Linked DNA regions of Homo sapiens: region 1 is linked to region 2. The links are contacts of gene promoters, found by promoter capture Hi-C in human tissues and cell types (Jung and others, 2019). All regions are on one chromosome and are shown on one strand. Each heading gives the region's core, a stretch centred on a gene start or on the middle of the fragment in contact. The rest is flanking DNA. Distances are from core to core; before and after follow the strand shown. Region 1 has its middle 4.0 kb from the start of CDC42. Region 2 holds the start of ID3 (inhibitor of DNA binding 3).

The links. The method cuts DNA at HindIII sites, captures the fragments that hold promoters and counts their contacts. A contact is called where the count stands out against the background at its distance.
Region 1: a contact is called between a fragment that was not itself captured here and the fragment with the promoter of ID3 in region 2, in 1 of the 25 tissues and cell types used here (dorsolateral prefrontal cortex).

The regions. Positions count from the first base shown.
Region 1 is chr1:22,046,211-22,051,117 of GRCh38, reverse strand. No RefSeq gene overlaps it. Among named protein-coding and RNA genes, the nearest start is that of CDC42, 4.0 kb to the left of the region's middle. The HindIII fragment of the contact is 4,522 bases long and covers 1-3,899 here.
Region 2 is chr1:23,558,251-23,563,376 of GRCh38, reverse strand. ID3 (inhibitor of DNA binding 3) reads left to right here and starts at 3,876. Exons shown (of 3, transcript NM_002167.5): 1 at 3,876-4,250; 2 at 4,358-4,442; 3 at 4,962-5,126. The coding sequence starts at 3,951. The coding sequence ends at 4,417. The region is part of intron 2 of LOC124903876 (a long non-coding RNA gene); the gene reads right to left. RefSeq lists silencers at 3,563-3,809, 3,677-3,936 and an enhancer at 4,877-5,006. The HindIII fragment of the contact is 6,582 bases long and covers 1,048-5,126 here.

The DNA.
Region 1 (4,907 bases), core at 389-2,888, 1.5 Mb after region 2:
GTGAGCCAAGATCGCGCCACTGCACTCCAGCCTGGGCAACAGAGCGAGACTCTGTCTCAAAAAAAATAAAAAAAAATTGCTTATCTTAATAACAGCTCATTTATTGTCTACTGCCACAGCTATTTGGCCAACAAAGACACTTAATTCCAGTATATTGACTTATAGTCATATTTTCTTTTGGATTTTTTTTTTTTTTTTGAGACGGAGTCTCGCTCTGTCACCCAGGCTGGAATGCAGTGGTTCGATCTCGGCTCACTGCAATCTCCGCCTCCCGGGTTCAAGCAATTCTCCTGCCTCAGCCTCCCAAGTGGCTGAGACTACAGGTGCCCACCACCATGCCCAGCTAATTTTTGTATTTTTAGTAGAGACGGGGTTTCACCATATTGGCCAAGCTGGTCTTGAACTCATGACTTTGTGATCCACCTGCCTTGGCCTCCCAAAGGGCTGCGATTACAGGTGTAAGCCACCGCACCCAGCCCTCTTTTGGATTTTTTAATTACCCAAAAATAAGAACTACATTTTTTAGTGTTTACTGCAGGTATGGCTAATAGCTTTGCAGGTAGTAGTAGCTAATTTAATACTCACAGCCACCCTATGAGTTAAGAACTGTTACCCCCACTTTATGGTTACATGAACTGAAGCTCAGAGGTGTTAAGAGACTTGTCCATAGCCGCCATGCCAAGCAGTGGCAGAGCTGAGACTTGCACTCAGGAGGCTGGCTCTAGTTGACTATGACACTACCACACTATCAAGCAGGTTTATTATAGAGAAATTAGAAGATAAGCTTCAGGCCAGGCACAGTGGCTCACATCTGTAATCCCAGCACTTTGTGAGGCTGAGGCTGGTGGATCACCTGAGGTCAGGAGTTGAAGACCAGCCTGACCAACATGGTAAAACCCCATCTGTACTAAAAAACACACACACAAAAATTTGCTCGGTGTGGTGGCAGGTGCCTGTAATCCCAGCTACTTGGGAGGCTGAGGCAGGAGAATCATTTGAATCCAGGAGGCGGAGGTTGCAGTGACCCCGAGATCATGCCATTGCACTCCAGCCTAGGCGACAAAAAAGTGAAACTCTGTCTCAAAAAAAAAAAAAAAAAAAAGCCAGGTGCGGTGGCTCACGCCTGTAATTCCAGCACTCCGGGAGGCCGAGGTGGGCGGATCACTTGAGGTCAGGAGTTCAAGACTAGCCTGACCAACATGGTGAAACCCTTTCTCTACTAAAAATACAAAAATTAGCTGGGTGTGGCATGCACTTGTATTCGCAGCTACTCGGGAGGCTGAGACAGGAGAATCGCTGGAACCTGGGAGGCAGAGGTTGCAGTGAGCCGAGATTGCGCCATTGCACTCTAGCCTGGGCAACAAGAACAAAACCCCACCTAAAAAAAAAAAACAGGAAGATAAGCTTCAGCTGTAGTCCTACCTCTAATGTGGCTCACACCTATAATCCTAACACTTTGGGAGGCCGAGGCGGGTGGATCACTTGAGCCCAGGAGTTCAAGACCAGTCTGGGCAACATAGCAAGACCTGCCCCCACCCATCTCTACAAAAAATACAAAAACAAAACAAAACAAAAAAACTACATTGTGAACATCTTTCCATGTCAAATAAAGCATCATTTGTAAAGGCTGCATTTTACTCTCCGGGCATTGCAATATTTACCCAGACTCCTACTGTTGGAATTTGGGTTGTTTTGGGCTATTGTGAATTTATTACTATTGTAAAAATGCATAAGCTTCATTTTTTAAACTTGAGGGGAAAATGGTTGTTTCTTCCCTTCACAAGTCCAGCTGGCAGTGCCCTTTCCTTCATCCTGTCTCACAATCCCATGAATGTCCCCAGACAACGTCTGCCCTTTCCAGTAGCAGCAATATCTTGATGGGGTGTCACCCAACTGTTCAGCTTTTCCTGCCTTTATTCTGAGGACAAGGACTTACTTAGCACTATGTCTTTTATGTTGTCAGGTTTTTTGTCAGAAGAACCCTCCTAGACCTTTTCACAGCCCCAAACAGCAGTGGCAATGGTGTTACTATTACTTGACCCAATCTACCATGTCCCTCACTGCTGGCCCAGCCCCCAGCCTCCTAGTGCCTCCCCGCTACTGCCCCACTGCTATAGCTGCCTCATGTTAACAGGAGGGACAGCCTGTGGGACTCCGGCTCCCTTCCCGGTGGCTACCATTCCGGTGTCCATTCTTCCTTCTGGTAACAGCACTTCCATTTCTCCTAGAGCAGCCCCTGCCCCAACTCTCAATCCATGTGGCTCTAGAGATGACACTATCTCTAGTTGCGGGAATGGACACGTGACCCAGGCTTGGCCAATCACAGCATTATAGAGAGCCCTGTTGCCACACCATTTCAGCAACAGGCATGTGACCCAATGAGATTTAATTCTGGAACTTTGGTCACAACTATTCAGTTCAGTGAATCTCTGTTTGCTGAGAGTAGGATGTAATCGTGGCACTGCTGGCAGCCAGCTTCCCACTGCAAGCAGAGATGCTGCCTGAGAATGAGACCAAGACAGAGGGGGAAACAGAACTGAGAGATGGAGACATGAAACCAAGTCCCAGTGGCATTGCATGAGACATCAGATCCAGTCTTGCTTCAATCTTCAGTCACATTAGCAATAAATTCCCTCTATTGCCTGAACGAGGTTGAGTAGGTTTCTGTTGCTTATGACTGCCAAACTCTTGATGAATCACTGCCACCCCTGCCCTGCTTGTCTGCCCATGAGGTACTTGTCCCTACCCTCTAGGTAATAACTCCCAAATCTATACCTCTTCCAACCCCTATTCCCACCCCCAATTTTTTTTTTTTTTTTTTTTTTTTTGAGACAGAGTCTCACTCTGTCAACCAGGCTGGAGTGCAATGGTGCGATCTCAGCTCACTGCAACCTCCCCTCCCAGGTTCAAGTGATTCTCCTGCCTCAGCCTCCCGAGTAGCTGGGATTGCAGGCAACTGCTACCATGCCCAGCTAATTTTTGTATTTTTTAGTAGAGATGGGGTTTCACCATGTTGGCCAGGCTGGTCTCAAACTCCTGACTACAGGCGATCCACCCGCCTCAGCCTCCCAAAGTGCTGGGATTACAGGCGTGAGCCACCGCGCCCGGCATCCTACCCCCATTTTCAAATTTCCAGCTACTCAGCACCATCAAAATCATCTTCCAGCTCCCACCTACTCCAGGGTCTAAGCACCTATGTCTGCTTTTGGCCCCTACAGCCTTGTATATCCAGGAGTTCTCAACCTTTTCTGCATCACAGATCCTATACCCACAAAATTCATATCTAATTTCTAGAGGCTCCCTTCAAGCTCTCTGCTTTAGTCCAGGCATGGTGGCTCATGCCTATAATCCCAACACTTTGGGAGGCTGAAGCGGGAGGATCACTTGAACCCAGGAGTTTGAGACCAGGCTGGGCAACATACTGAGACCTCATCTCTACAAGAAATATAAAAACCGTGTGGTGGCAAGCACCTGTAGTCCCAGCTACTTGGGGAGGCTGAGATGTGAGGGTCGCTTGAGCCTGCGATGTTGAGGCTGCAGTGAGCCATGATCATGCCAGTGCACTACACTGCACTCCAGCCTGGGTGACAAAGCAAGACCCTGTCTCAAAAAAATAAATAAAAAGAATCTCAGCTGGGTGCGGTGGCTCACGCCTCTAATCCCAGCACTTTGGGAGGCCAAGGCGGGAGGATCACGAGGTCAGGAGATCAAGACCATTGTGGCCAACATGGTGAAACCCTGTCTCTACTAAAATACAAAAAATTAGCTGGGTATAGTGGCGCTCACCTGTAGTCCTAGCTACTCAGGAGGCTGAGGCAGGGGAATCGCTTGAACCCGGAAGGCGGAGGTTTCAGTGAGCAGAGATCGCACCACTGCACTCCAGCCTGGCCACAGAGCAAGACTCCGTCTCAAAAAAAAAAAAAAAAAAAAAGAATCTCTACTTTAACTCATTTGACAAAGCACAGCATTTATCTTCCTATATCATCGCTCTGATTAGGTCACTCCCTTACTCAGAAACCTTCAGTGTTTTCTCCTTTGTCTTCAGAATAAAATTTAAGACCTTTGGTTGGGTACAGTGACTCAGACCTGTAATCCCAGCACTTTGGGAGGCCGAGGTGGGCAGATCATGAGGTCAGGAGTTTGAAACCAGCTTGACCAACATGGTGAAACCCCATCTCTACTAAAAATACAAAAATTGGCTGGGTATGTTGGTGCATGCATGTAATCCCAGCTACTCAGGAGGCTGAGGCAGGAGAATCGCTTCAATCTAGGAGGTGGAGGTTGCAGTGCCTGGGTGACAGAGAGAGACTCCATCTCAAAAAAAAAAAAAAAAATTTAAGACTTTACCCAGACATTCTATGTCCTCTATGATCTTTGCCTTTCCAAAGTGATTTCCCTTTCTTTTTGTATTAGTCATAGTTCTCCAGAGAAACAGAACCAATAGAATGGTAATATATATTATTTATATATTACATATAAAACCATTCTGGCCATGTGCAGTGCCTCACACCTGTAATCCCAGCACTCTGGGAGGCCAAGGCGGGTGGAACACTTGAGGTCAGGAGTTCGAGACCAGCCTGGCCAACATGGTGAAACCTCATATCTACTAAAAATACAAAATTAGCTGTGTGTAGTGATGCGTGCTTGTAATCTCAGCTACTTGGGAGGCTGAGGCAGGAGAATCATTTGAGCCCAGGAGGTGGAGGTTGCAGTGAGCCGAGATCGAACAACTGCACTCCAGCCTGGGCGACAGAGGGAGACTCCATCTCGAAATAATAATAAAAATAAAACCATTCTCTATATAGAGAGTGGTTATATATACATATAGAATGGTCTATATATAATATATAAATTATATATTATATAATCATACATAATATATAAATTATATATAATAATCTCTATAT
Region 2 (5,126 bases), core at 2,627-5,126:
GTGTGGTGGCGTGCGCCTGTAGTCCCAGCTACTCAGGAGACTGAGACAGAAGAATCGTTTGAACCCAGGAGGTGGAGGTTGCGGTGAGCCGAGATCACAACACTGCACTCCACCCTGGGCGACGGAGTGAGACTCCATCCCAAAAAAAAAAAAGAGAGAGAGGGCAGAGTGGACAGAGAGTCAAATGAGAGGAGGTCTGGGTTCTGGCCATAGGCCAGCTACTGACATCCCAAGTAAACGTGAGCAAGTTTCTGAGGTCCCCATGATCCCCATGTCTGGGACATAAATGGGAAAAAGATGATAGATAGATAATAAATAGAGGCTCAGCTTAGACAAAAAGGCATCTGCAATCCTTGTCATCATTACTTTGACTTTGAAATCAACAATTTAGAGAGCCCACTACCACGAAATTAAAAAATTCTAAAATTTTTTAAAAAACAAAACAGTATAACTTAAAGAGTTCTGCCAACTTCTCAAAAAAAAAAAAATCAGAGAGCACAACATTGAATTTTTTTTTCTTTTTTTTATTTTGGCAGAGGAAGATTGAGTTCCTGGAAATGCTTACAAAATGATTCCTGACACTGGGAGGAGATAGTTAGAAAAAAGAAGAAGAAAAATTATACACATATATAGATAAAGGAAGAAGGTGGAAAGAAAGGGAATAGACAAAAGAAAATAAAGAACTAAAAGAGAAAGAAAAAAAAAGACTTTAAAGGGCCCCAATTGAAGCAACATTATCAAGTTCTCAGCATCTGCAATTCACAAGCCGCTCGCGGTTGGGGCGATGCAGACCCCGCCCCTTTCTCGGGTGTCCGGCGCTCATTGGTGGGGGAGGCAGTCGCCGGCCGGTGACTGCCCGAGGAAAGGTTGCCTGGGACACGCATCCCTGTGTGAACGCATGACGTCCCACCCTGGCGCCAGGCTGTCTGGGGCTGAGTCTTAGATCAACACAGCTGTGGGACCGGGACCCACAGCTGGGCAAAGGAGCGGATTCCTCAACAAAAAATAGGATTGTGAGAAAAGTTCTGAAACAAAAACAGCGCAGACAAAAGCCTTAATGACATCCTTTCATAAAAATAAAAAATGCAAGAGGGGGGAAAAAGCTGGTAAAAGGAGCAGAACTGGGAACAGAAAGTTCAGAGGCATTTGGAATAAGAGGCTGAGGCCCCACCACTGCTAAACAAGTTGCAGAAGGCCTGAGCTAGCCTGTCCAGTCTGCTGTGGGGAAAAAGAAGTCTCTTGGGTTTAAACACTATTCAGTGTTCCTAACCATAACCTGCTTCTTTCAGAATTAGAATCTTAGGCTAGAGAGGACCATTAAAGGGCACTTGCTTCCTCCCAACCTACCCACTATCTTTTTTTTTTTTTTTTTTTTAAAGAGAAAATGAAGCCCAGGAAGGGAGGAAATTCGTCCAAGGGCACACTGCAAATTATTGGCATGCACAGAACAGAATTTTGCTTGCTAATTCCACAGCATCCTTCTGCCTTATGTCACACAGCCCATGGGCATTTCAGCCTGGAAGCATCCTGGGAAATAATAAATGCGAAGGTGCTTTGCAAACCTAAATCACTATACAAGCCTGAGGCATCAGCTGCAGTAGTAGAGGAAGGAAAAGAAGGGAGGAGAATCTGGGTAGACTGAGCACCTTCCACACAACTGGCCCATGCTGGGTCCCCCAGGCAGTAAGAAGACTAAGATCAGATGGAGTGAACACATCAAGTGCTTTGCAGAGAAGAGGCATTCAATAATTATCGAATGAATGAATGAGTAGACCCAATTAGTTCCATTTTATAGATGGGAAAATAGAAGCACCCAGGATAACTCAGCCAAAGTCTACACAATTAGTTTAAACAAAAAAAGAAGAAGAAGAAGAAGAATGGGCATTTGCACAGAAATCTGCCTGGCCCGTGATTTTTCTAGAACCCTCTGGACTTGACCGTTTTGCCACAGAAGTCTGCAAGATAGGAAAAGAAGGATCTTCTCTTCGGTTATTCAGGAGTTCCTACAGCCATTATTTTGCCTTTCCTGACCAAATAGCTGGCACTTGACGGCTGTAGCATGTAAAGACTGACTTGCCCACTCACAGGTTTTCTTCCTCTTTTCTTACTGAAGAGCCTGTCCTTGAAAAAAACATTCCAGGAAGAAATCTTTCTTGGGCCACAGAGCCCTGTGGTTTGATGGAAAAGAACGAGGCTTCAAGACTGGCTCTGCTATTACTTGTAGTGTGACATTGGGCATGTCTTAAATGCCTTCCTTGGGCCCCTCAGCATCTTTCACCTACATATCCAAATTTCACACAACCTTGGACTTCTACAATTGGAAAGGATTTTAAATAATCACTTAGTACCATCGTCTATTTTACTCACAAGGCAATTAAAGCCAGAGTACCTGGGCTTGTTCAAGATTACATGACAAATTATTGTCAGGGCTAGCATGATGAACCCAGGGCTCTCAATTCCCAGTCAGTGTCCTTTTCAACCGTTTTGCGACTCTCTTTGGCTCTGAGCCCCCCTTGTCCTGTTAATCAGTGCCACACATTATCGAACTCTTGTTTCCTGTGTTAATCTTGTCTCCCCAAATTGTGAGATTCTTGAAAGCAGGAGCCACTGTTTTATGCGGAGGGACTCCATAAATATTCACCAATGATTCATTAGGAAAGCAACTATTGGGGGAATCCCACTTGGTCATTTCCAAAATGGAAAGCAGCATCTTGGAAGTGCAGGTCCCCAAATGTCTAGGGAGGTGACAAGAAGGCAAGCAAAGAATCAAAGAATACTGAGCACAGTGTCCTGTTGCAATACAGGACTTAGTTTGCCGGCCCTCTGGTTCCTTTCCTGGTCTTTCAGATGGAGCTGGAGCTACTTCAGCAGGGCTAAGAATAATCAAGTCCAGGTGGCCTGCCCTTCCATAGCAGAAAGGGACAGACAATAGAGCAATGAAATTACCACTGTTTTCTACACAGAGGTGTGTGGAAAGTGAAGAGAGGGGAAGTTAAGAAATTTGCTGACCCAATTGGGTGGGGGGGGGCTCTTAAAAAGGTTTATGTAGAAATTGTCCCATCTGTGCCTCCATATTTAAAACCTTGTCCAAAATTCTAATTGAACTCACAAAGCACAACTGTGCATATATTTAGTTCGTTATGGAGTTTATGGGGCAGAGGGTCCAGGCTCCTTTTTTCCCCATGCAAAAAGCATGGGCTCAAGCTTTCTTCTTTTCCCCTGTTGCTCAAATAAATAGTGTTCTTTGCTCAAACCCCCTTTCCCTCCTCCTTCTGCAATCTCAGCGCCTAGCGCAAATCTGTTTTCTTCATTGTAACCTCAGCTTCACCGCAATTAATTTTTTTTCCCTCTGGTCACAAGATAATTCCTGACGCCAGTGAGTCTGGAGGTCAGACGAACAGCAAATTGGGGAACAAGGCGGCACTAATTCCTTACAAGTTTCCCTTGAAAAATCTTTCGCTTAAAAAAAACGGGGGGTGGGGGGAGCTTCTTTGCTGTTCAGGGATTTATGACCTCGGAGGAGCTGTGGCTCGAACCAGTGTTGGGCTAAAGGCGGACTGGCAGGGGGCAGGGAAGCTCAAAGATCTGGGGTGCTGCCAGGAAAAAGCAAATTCTGGAAGTTAATGGTTTTGAGTGATTTTTAAATCCTTGCTGGCGGAGAGGCCCGCCTCTCCCCGGTATCAGCGCTTCCTCATTCTTTGAATCCGCGGCTCCGCGGTCTTCGGCGTCAGACCAGCCGGAGGAAGCCTGTTTGCAATTTAAGCGGGCTGTGAACGCCCAGGGCCGGCGGGGGCAGGGCCGAGGCGGGCCATTTTGAATAAAGAGGCGTGCCTTCCAGGCAGGCTCTATAAGTGACCGCCGCGGCGAGCGTGCGCGCGTTGCAGGTCACTGTAGCGGGACTTCTTTTGGTTTTCTTTCTCTTTGGGGCACCTCTGGACTCACTCCCCAGCATGAAGGCGCTGAGCCCGGTGCGCGGCTGCTACGAGGCGGTGTGCTGCCTGTCGGAACGCAGTCTGGCCATCGCCCGGGGCCGAGGGAAGGGCCCGGCAGCTGAGGAGCCGCTGAGCTTGCTGGACGACATGAACCACTGCTACTCCCGCCTGCGGGAACTGGTACCCGGAGTCCCGAGAGGCACTCAGCTTAGCCAGGTGGAAATCCTACAGCGCGTCATCGACTACATTCTCGACCTGCAGGTAGTCCTGGCCGAGCCAGCCCCTGGACCCCCTGATGGCCCCCACCTTCCCATCCAGGTAAGCCTCGAAGTCGGGACAGGGCTGAACACCCAGGCAAGGATGCTGCGGGACCCTCGGAGCTCCCGATTGCCTCGCGTAACTCTTCCCTCTTTTCCTCTAATCAGACAGCCGAGCTCACTCCGGAACTTGTCATCTCCAACGACAAAAGGAGCTTTTGCCACTGACTCGGCCGTGTCCTGACACCTCCAGGTGAGTATCTCCTCTCTTGGAGAGGGAGGTTTAAACGGCAAGTCCTGGAGTTGGCAGACGTTTTGAAAAATTGCCACTCACTCGGTTTAGGGAAACTGAGGCCAGAGAGGGACAAGTGACTTGCCCATGGTTGCATCAAATGAATGGCAGAGTCAGTTTCCATGTGATGTGCATTTAAGCCTTAAATGCGCCTGGGCCCTGCCCTCCCGCAGTGGCCGAGGGTCTGGCAAAGTAGACATGGGTCCGACTAAATACAAGTCTTTCTGTTCCATGTTGTATAGGGAGCTGTCTTCGGCAGCCCCCTCCCAGCTAGTGTCAATTCCAAGTAGGAGGGGTAGCGCAAGCTCCGCCTGTGGTCTTTGGCGCCAACTGGGTGGGGGCAGCGTGGGGCGCGGAGTTATCAGCTGGAGGTACAGACCAAGTTTCCTCCCTGGCGCCGGCCAGTCTGCGGACGGCCCCCGCCTCGGCACGCTCGGCGGAAACTGACTGCTCCTTGGTCTTCTTTCCTCCCCCGCCCAGAACGCAGGTGCTGGCGCCCGTTCTGCCTGGGACCCCGGGAACCTCTCCTGCCGGAAGCCGGACGGCAGGGATGGGCCCCAACTTCGCCCTGCCCACTTGACTTCACCAAATCCCTTCCTGGAGACTAAACCTGGTGCTCAGGAGCGAAGGACTGTGAACTTGTGG